Linked DNA regions of Homo sapiens: all the other regions are linked to region 2. Evidence: promoter capture Hi-C in human tissues and cell types (Jung and others, 2019). All regions are on one chromosome and are shown on one strand. Each heading gives the region's core, a stretch centred on a gene start or on the middle of the fragment in contact. The rest is flanking DNA. Distances are from core to core; before and after follow the strand shown.

The links. The method cuts DNA at HindIII sites, captures the fragments that hold promoters and counts their contacts. A contact is called where the count stands out against the background at its distance.
Region 1: a contact is called between a fragment that was not itself captured here and the fragment with the promoter of ANGPT4 in region 2, in 3 of the 25 tissues and cell types used here (IMR-90 fibroblasts, mesendoderm cells and thymus).
Region 3: a contact is called between a fragment that was not itself captured here and the fragment with the promoter of ANGPT4 in region 2, in 4 of the 25 tissues and cell types used here (dorsolateral prefrontal cortex, mesenchymal stem cells, psoas muscle and 1 more).

The regions. Positions count from the first base shown.
Region 1 is chr20:847,866-850,857 of GRCh38, reverse strand. No RefSeq gene overlaps it. Among named protein-coding and RNA genes, the nearest start is that of FAM110A, 16 kb to the right of the region's middle. The HindIII fragment of the contact is 7,153 bases long and covers 1-2,992 here.
Region 2 is chr20:915,032-918,165 of GRCh38, reverse strand. ANGPT4 (angiopoietin 4) reads left to right here and starts at 1,832. Exons shown (of 9, transcript NM_015985.4): 1 at 1,832-2,260. The coding sequence starts at 1,952. LOC105372492 (a long non-coding RNA gene) reads right to left here. Exons shown (of 3, transcript XR_937185.3): 2 at 745-840. The HindIII fragment of the contact is 12,950 bases long and covers 1-3,134 here.
Region 3 is chr20:984,337-987,621 of GRCh38, reverse strand. The region is part of intron 1 of RSPO4 (R-spondin 4); the gene reads left to right. Among named protein-coding and RNA genes, the nearest start is that of RSPO4, 16 kb to the left of the region's middle. The HindIII fragment of the contact is 4,609 bases long and covers 1-3,285 here.

The DNA of each region.
Region 1 (2,992 bases), core at 436-2,935, 67 kb after region 2:
CCAAAATATATGACTTGGCTTGAAAGGAAACAGTATTTACATAGTCATAATATAAATAACACTAAAATCCACTTCACAAAAAATTGTGATAAATGCCAATTGAAAGGGGGGAACCAAAAGCTAAATCTTTCTTGATAATAATGATTATGAGAAGAAAAAGTTTGACTACTCACTGGGTGATGTTCATTATTCTCAGCCTTTTACATCTTGAATCCGTATAACAATCCAATAACCTCAGCACTATTATTATCACCCTCATTTTACAAATGAGAAAACTGAGGCCCAAGGAGGTTAAGTTACTGCCCAAGGTCATACAGCCAGAAAGAGGAAGGGCTGGGATCCAAAGCCAGGCAGCCAGGCAGTGGAGGCCACACTATGAAAACATCAGACCAGAAAGTCAGTCAATATGTGCCTAAAATTGGTCAGACACACTGGCTCACGCCTGTAATCCCAGCACTGTGGGAAGCCAAGGTGGGTGGATCACTTGAGGTCAGGAATTCAAGACCAGCCTGGTCAACATGGTGAAACCCCATCTCTACAAAAAATACAAAAATTAGCCAGGCGTGGTGGCACACACCTGTAGTCCCAGCTACTTAGGTGGCTGAGGCAGGAGAATCGCTTGAACCTGGGAGGCAGGGGTTACAGTGAGCCAAGATCACACCACTGCACTCCAGCCGGGGCAACAGAGCAAGATTCTGTCTCAAAAAAAAAATAAATATATATGTGTGTGTGTGTGTGTGTGTGTGTGTGTGTGTGTGTGTGTATGCCTAAAATTGATCAAGAAAACAGCAGGAAAAGCAAGTTATTTAAAAATATGGAGGAAAGTACCAGAAGAAATAGTTTAAGAAGTTGTAAGTGGTTGCTTTTGGGGAGCGAGGCTGATGTAGAGGAAAGGACAAGGGATGCTGCTTGTTAGTACTGATATATATGGATATAAAAATATGTCCATGGTGGGCAGGCAGCAATCGGCAGGAGAGCGATGCAAGGAAACTTTCTGAGGTGATAATGCTTGATACCCTGATAGGGGTTTGGGGTACAGTATGCATTTGTCTAAATTCAGCAAATGGCACCTTTAAGATCTGTGCATTTCATTCCATGTAAATGTTACCTAGAGAGGAACAAGACAAACAAATATTGAATTCTAGCTAATGGCATGCACACTAAAGTGACTTTAAGGGAAGTGTACTGATATATGCAACTTAATTTGAAAAGCTTTATTAAAAAATAAGTTGTATTAAAAAAATAAGTTGTATTAATGGATGGAGAGATGGGTAGATTCCTGATAGAGCAAATATAGTGAAATATTAACAAGTGTGCATTAGTAGGTGGGTATATGAATGTTCACTGTCTAATTCTTTCAACTCTATGTTTGAAATTTTTCTTAATAAAATGTTGGAAGAAATATATGAGTGAATTATCTGAAAAATAATATTACCTTTTATTTTATTTTTATTCTACTTTAAGTTCTGAGATACATGTGCAGAATGTGCAGGTTTGTTACATAGATATGTATGTGCCACGGTGGTTTGCTGTACCCATCAACCAATATTACCTTTTTAAAAACCTGGATGGGGTGTTCACTCCTTTTTTTTTTTTTTTGAGAGGGAGTCTTTCTTTGTCACCCAGGCTGGAGGGCAGTGCTATGATATTGGCTCACTGCAACCTCCACCTCCAGGGTTCAAGCGAATCTCATGCCTCAGCCTCCCAAGTAGCTGGGATTATAGGTGTCCGCCACTATGCCTAGCTAATTTTTGTATTTTTAGTAGAGACGGGATTTCACCACGTTGTCCAGGCTGGTCTCAAACTCCTGGTTTCAAGTGATCCGCCTGCCTTGGCCTCCCAAAGTGCTGGGATTACAGACGTGAGCCACCGCACCCGGCCGGGTGTTCAGGCCACCCAGATGGACCAGCACAACTGTAAGCCCTCCTATATGCACATCTAATTGGCAGCCAGCTGCAGCCATGCTCTCATCTATATCCTATGACCCTACCCTGGGGTCCTAGAGTCAAGGACCTATAGCCAAATTCCTCAACCCTTTCCTGGTCCCCTGTACACAGGATATCAGGTAAGATGGGGGTGGGGGGTCTCCTTAAATGTTTCAGTAGCAGGAACAGAACTATTTAACCAAGGACAGGGAACAGGCCTCTGCAGCTACACTCCATCCTCTGCCAAAAGGGTAAACTGAGGTCTGTGGGGGGGGGGCTGCCTTTCCCAGGGCCCATCCACCTTCATGATAGAAGTGAGCAGCCAGGTTGCCTGGTTCCCAAATCCACGTGTATATAATTAGCTGGTGGGAAATGGATCAGAGAGCAGATCCCATCTCTGCCTAATTAGGGGCTAGGCAGCTGGGGCCAGGCTGGCCTGGGGGAGCTGCTTCGGAGGGCTGGGCAGCCCCAGGAGACAGGGCAGCAGCTGCAGGCCCTCCGAGGGCTCACACTCCAACTGGAGGCAGAACAATAGAGGGGCTGTTTCCACAGATCCCCAAGGCTGCAGGGTTGGGGGAGGGAGGAGTGCAAAAGCCCCCCGCCCTGCTCCCTCCACAGAGGCCTGCAGGGAAGGCGGGAGGCTCCAGAATCCTGGAACAGGGGGAGCCCTCCCAAGACCAAGCCATAACCATTGGAGAAGACTCAATCTGGCACCTTCCCCACTTCCAAGAATCCCTCCCTGCTCTCTCCCCAACAGACCCTCCCAGTGGATTTATGGAAAGGCGTTCTCTTTTCAGCTATCCCCTGGTCCAGCTCCTGGGAACAGCTCTGGTTTTAGGGCAGAAGTCCCTAAGTATACCTGCTTTACATTCTATGATTATTTATGTGCTGAATGTTTAGTTGCCCATTCTCTTCTCCAGACTAGGACAGGGGCCATGTCTGTCTTATCCACTGCTGGGCACCCAGTAGATGCTCAGTAATAAAGTGACCAGAAGAAAAGGCTGCCAAGATGAGGAAGAGTGGTGGGGTACATGCTGGGAGAACCAGGAATCCAGACTGCGATGTGT
Region 2 (3,134 bases), core at 583-3,082:
CCTGGTGTAACTGCCTCGTTGGGATTATCAAGCAGCTCAGTCAAGACAATCATAATGACGACCACCATTCACACTGCCCTTCTCTGCACCCAGAGCTGTGATAAGCTATCAGTCCACATTACTCTCACATGGTCAGGGTGCTATGACCCCATTTACAGCTGAGGCAACTGGGGCCAAGCGGGGCACGCAGAGCTCAGAGCATGTGGGAAGGCTCAGGGGAGGCTGGAGGCTGATAACCAGCTGCTTTTCCTTTGCCTGCAAAAGCCCCACACCTGGTATAATGTTCTCAGTCCCCAGATGAGACCACAGTTCACAGCTGCCCAGAAGCAGCCTGCCCCAATTCAAAACTCTATCGGGATTTGAGAGAACAAAAAGGAAAATACTAAACAGCCAGACTGGCCCCTACTCTGAGGAAACAAGCAGGGAGAGAGGAAAAGCCCAAACAGCTGGCAGAACATAAAGGCAGCCCATGCAGGAAAGGCCCCACCAACTCCTGGGCACCTTCTGCCTGGAGACCATGTCCCCCAGGGACAAATCCCTGCCCTAGAGGAGTTTATGCTCCAGTGGGTCGTGGGAGGGGAGGTGCAATGACAACTATAACATTGACAACGGAAAATATTTATTTAGTGCTCGCTCTGTGCCAACCTTGCTCTAACTCACCTAATTTTCATGCCATGTGAAGTAGGTGGTATTATTTTCCTCATTCAGGAGGAAATGAAGGCACAGAGAGGTTAAGTGACTTACTCAAAGTCATACAGCTGGTAGATGGTAGAGCCAGGATTTGAACCCAGAAGCTGAAAACTTCTCCATCCCCATGCTGAGGACTCACACGCATTCCTCCTGCAAGAGATAAGGTTTACCCAGTTTACAGATCAGGGTGTGGAGGCCCAGAGAGGCACAGCTGCCCACCCTAGGTCTCGTGGCCAGCTGTCGGGGAGCGAGATCTAGGGTTAGCCTCCTGGCACTCCAACCTCCTCTCCCCACTGCCTCCTCTCCACATCCCCACTCCAGCAGCCCCAGGACAATCTGCCCCAGGACATGACAACTTCTCATTACTGTTACAAGCAACCAAGCCAGGGCCATCCTGGGGCATACCACTTTCCCCTGGCCCTGAGGGAGAAGAGAGGACAGGAAGCAACTCCCAGCTGGGTTGCTCACTTGCCCCACCTTGGAAGGATTTTCTGTGTCTCCAGAGGCAAAGTGGATTCGCTGGGCCCTCCCCAGCCTCACCCCTCTGCCTCCTCCCCTCCCTCTGCTCTCTCCGGGGGTCACTTGTACTCCAAGCGCTAACATGGAACCAGAGGGAGGAAGGTGCAGCGGGGAGAGAAGGGGATGGCAGCGGGACTGAAACTTGAGATCTTAGACTTGGGGGGCAGGGGATGGGGGTGGAGGGAAAGAGGGAGACCAAGACAGAGACAGGAAGGGAGAGTTAAGTTGCATTTGGTTTTCCAAAGCGGGCAGCATTGGAGCTTGGCGTTTGTGTGTACATGAATGTGTGTGCGTGTCAGCGTGCGTGTGAGTGTGTGCTCGTGAGTGTGTGCATGAGTGTGTGCGCGTGTCTGTGTGCTGTTTTCTTCCCTCCCCTCCAGCAGGGAAGCCAGGCCTCACTGGATAATCAGAGGGCTCAGAGGTGAGGCAGACAGAGCAAGGTTGGTGCACGCTTAGGGTAAGGGCGACGTGCCACCAAGACTGAGGAAGGAGGAAGGGAAGGAGTGAAGAATAGAGGTGAGAGGGTGTCGGGTGGGGCCGGAGGGAGGCGGTGAGAGGAAGCAAGCAGAGCAGCCGTGGTATTCAGAGCAAGTATAAATAGCTGCCTGGACAGAGCTCGGCCAGACAGAGGTTTGTAGCTGCAGCTGCAGGCAAGCCTGGCCACTGTTGGCTGCAGCAGGACATCCCAGGCACAGCCCCTAGGGCTCTGAGCAGACATCCCTCGCCATTGACACATCTTCAGATGCTCTCCCAGCTAGCCATGCTGCAGGGCAGCCTCCTCCTTGTGGTTGCCACCATGTCTGTGGCTCAACAGACAAGGCAGGAGGCGGATAGGGGCTGCGAGACACTTGTAGTCCAGCACGGCCACTGTAGCTACACCTTCTTGCTGCCCAAGTCTGAGCCCTGCCCTCCGGGGCCTGAGGTCTCCAGGGACTCCAACACCCTCCAGAGAGAATCACTGGCCAACCCACTGCACCTGGGGAAGTTGCCCACCCAGCAGGTGAAACAGCTGGAGCAGGCACTGCAGAACAACACGCAGTGGCTGAAGAAGGTACGGGGCATGGGAGGTTTGCAGGGGGCAGAGGGCGGCTTTGGGGTCTGTCACAATCAGCAGGTGGAGTGTCCATCCAAGAGGCCTTCCCTGAGCACAGAGGGCTGTCTCTGAGCTGCACAAAGAGGGGCAGGGGTGGGTCTGAGGCCACACAGCAAGATTGGGCAATGTCAGCTGGCAACCTGGCTCTTTAACTGCCGTCCCTTCATTCATCCAACAGAAATCCATTCAGCCCTGACCAAGGGCTGAACGGACCAAGCCTTCCTGGGTGCTGGGGATACGACAGTATAGTATGTCTCCCTCTGGACTAGTAGGGGAAAGAGGCAGTAAGAGATAATCTACTATGTCAGATGGTGAAGCAAAATGAAGAAGAAAGAGGGCAAGTGGCGGCCCTGGGTGGCTGCTTGAGGTCAGATCATTAGAGAGTACTTCTCAGAGGAGGTGACATTTGAACCCAGAGAACAAGGGAAATGATAGAGTGGGCCAGGCAGGTATTTGAGGGAACGTTCTGCAAAGGGAGCTGCATGTATTTTGACCGTGAGGAGGGAATGCATCCGCAGCGGTGTGTGCCTGGAGAACCATGGGGCGAAGGCCTGTGTAGCTGGAGCAGAGGAGAGGGAGCAAGGGTGCGGGGAGGTCTGAGAGGTGACAGCAGGGCAGGCCATGCAGCTGGGGGGGGGGCCACTGGAAGGACTTCAGCTTTTGTTCTGAGTGTCATGGGAGCCACTGCAAGGTTGTGAGCAGAGACAGACACCCGTGATTCGATTTCAACAGCATAGACTGTAGGAGGCAGGGTGGAAGGAAGAAGCCCAAAGAGGTGGCCGCTGCAGCCATCAGGTGCAAGGTACCGGAGGCCTGGAGCAGAACGGGGCTA
Region 3 (3,285 bases), core at 603-3,102, 69 kb before region 2:
AGAGATAAGGGTCTCACTATGTTGCCCAGGCTGGTCTCAAATTCCTGGCCTTAAGTAATCCTCCCACCTCAGCCTCCCAAAGTGCTGGGATTACAGGTGTGAGCCACCGCACCTGGACAGTGTTCCTTTTACAAATGAGCAAACTGAGGTTAAGTAACTGTCCCAGGGAGTAAAGGTGGGGCTGGGATTTGAGAACAGGTTTGTCTCATCCCAAACCTTGGAGTCCTACCTCTACCCTCTAAGGCTGCTGCCCAGCAGGACTAATTGAAAGCTTCCTGTCTAGGAAGGACAGGGTAATCATAAGAGATGTGTCATTTGGAATAGCAGTGCCCCAACCATCCTCAGGCCCAGAGCAGGGTGCAGCAATGGATGTAGCAGACCTGGGCTACCCAGACAGGGGCCAGGGGCCAGGCTGTGCACTAGCCCAGACAGAGAGGACCAGCTGGCTGGAGATAAAGAATCAAAGGTGCCCATCCAGAGGTCTGAGTTCTAGCTCCTCCCCTCCCATGACTCACTGTGTGGCTTCTAACAAGTGCCTACCCCTCTCTCAACTCAGGACACTTCCTGTAAAATGCTGTTACTACCTCAGGCTACAGATAATAGACTCTGCCTAATTGCCTTCTCAAAAGAGGGTGCCGGAGTCTTTTACAGTTTCCGTATCTTGTAGGTCATGGTGGTATTTCATTCTTGTTCTCATCTTCAATTTGAAAATTCTTAGGGAAGTAGAACAGCTTTGCGTATGGTTATTGTCCTATTTGTCTTTCTTTTTTAAATTCCTTGTAATGTCTTTGCCCATTCTCCCTCCACACACTTGGATCATTCCCCTTTTTCTTATTGATTTATAGGAGCTCGTTGTGTATTAAGGATATTCTTGGCTTACTTTGTGTGTAACTGGCTTAATGATGATACTGAAGTTGTAACAGAGGGTTACAAACATGGCATGCTTTCCATGCACCCCCCACCCCCCACCCCCAATGCACAGTCGTATTTTTAAACTCCAATCCTTAATAACTTTGGGCAGATCTCAAAGCTTTCTGGTAACTTTCAGCTATTAAAAAGCCTAGTCCAGTGCTGAATTTTTAAAATACAGGTCTGATTTGAAGCTCTCCTTTCCCATCACTGCTTCCCCATCACTGCCTGACTCAGCTTCTGACTCCACTGATTTGCCCTGTAGGGAGATATGTCATGCTGTCTCATTCTCTTCTCTCCTCCCTCTGGGTTGATTTCTCCCCTGTATGTTGGGGAGCAGAAGAAGGAATGGGGATAGAGACAGCTGTCACTACCCTGATGCTGCTGTGGCCTCCACAATTCCCGGTGTTAGAAAACTCTGGGGCCATCACCAGTGAGCAGCAGGGAGGGACTGGGACTAAATGTTCCTCTGCCTCCATCCATGCCCTCCCCTTTCTCCCACGTGTGGCAGGTGCCTAATTGGTACACAGGTGTGATTACTGAGCAAGGAGCACGAGCTTGACCTCTTCAGATCACCCTAGCTTCCTCACTACCCCATCCCCACTTCAACAGCCTCATGCCCCTTTGGGCTGGAAAACCATGGCTTAGATTAAGCTCAAGAGCCTCCTTCAATGTCCACTTGACCAAATATAGGAAATTGACAGGAAATTGGTCAAATGGTGGCAATGCAGGCTGCCTCTGCCAGACCCCACCCCTTTTGCATTTCTCATTCATTCTCCACTCACTCCCAATGGACACAGGGCAGATCAACAAGAGTGAGTTCAATCAAGGGATGGAATGCCTGTTTCCCTCTGGTTCATAGCTTCTCCCCTCCAAACCATGAGCCCACCTGGGCTTGGGAGTTGGGGGCATGCCGTGCCCTACCCTGCCCCAGTCACTGCTGGCCAATCCTCCTTAGATCCTCTTTAGAAACTGGCTTATATGGGCTGGGGAGGCAGTGGGGCAGGTCAGGGATGGGGGTGACAAAGATAGTTGGCCCCCTCTCAATAAGTCCTAGAGAGGATGTCTGACTCCAATCTCAGACTCGGAGGCAGCTCTCTTTAGAACAGCAAAATATGTCCTATTCATTCTTACATCCAATAAACATTTTACAGAGCACCTAGTAGACATGTGGCCCCATGCATGGCATTGGAGAGTCACTGGTGAACAAAAGTCCTGGGGAAATTTACATTTCCAATCCAGTATGATTTTGTATGTCTTTCTAAAATGTTTCTACAGGTCTGTGATTTGTCTTTTAACTTTAATAAATAAAGGATCCTGGCACATAGATGATATTCAAGAAATATCTGCTGAATGGATGGATGGACGGATAGATGGTTGGGTGGATGATGGGTGGGTGGGTGGATAGATGGATGGATGGATGGATAGATGAGTGGGTGGGTGGATGGATGGATAGATGGGTGGGTGAGTGGATGGATATATGGGTGGGTGGATGGATGGATGGATGGATGGGGATGGATAGATGGGTGGGCAGATGGGTAGGTGGGTGGGTGGATGGATGGATGGATGGATGGATAGATGAGTGGGTGGGTGGATGGATGGATGGATAGATGGGTGGGTGAGTGGATGGATAGATGGGTTGGTGGATGGATAGATGGGTGGGTGATTGGATGGATAGATGGGTTGGTGGATGGATGGATGGGTGGATGGATGGATGGATAGATGGGTGGGTGAGTGGATGGATAGATGGGTGGGTGGGTGGATGGATGGATGGATGGATGGATGGATGGGGATGGATGGATGGATGGATGGGGATGGATAGATGGGTGGGCAGATGGGTAGGTGGGTGGGTGGATGGATGGATGGATGGGTGAACAGTGGGCCTTTAGAAACACTGAGTTTAACCATCCATTTGACAGATGGAGAAACTGAAGCCCAGAGACAGGGAGACACTTGCCTGAGGACACACAGAACTGGACAAGAGTCCACATCTGGGGCTCTCTCCCTTGTACTACTAGGATTTGAGTGTTGAAGAAGGCCCATGGGGAGAGACCAGACCCAGAATAGGGTCCTTGAAGATGCTCACTTTGTGCCAGGTGTGATTACTGGGCAAGGAGCATGGAGCATTGGGCTGGAGGCCCAAACTGCATTCCCAACTCTCTGCCACCCCTTGGAAGCTCCAGGTACCCAGGGTGCTGGCTGAGAAGAACTGGGGCTTTCCCAGGAACACTGGCAGGGACACACTGACCAAGGACCTGCCTCAGTCAGCGCTGACTTTTAGACCTGGCCCCCTTTCCTGATGCTCACTGGCAGTGGGGCCCCAAGTCTTCTCAGCACTGGGAGCTGATTATATTTCTCAGCTTTCTTTTTTTCTGA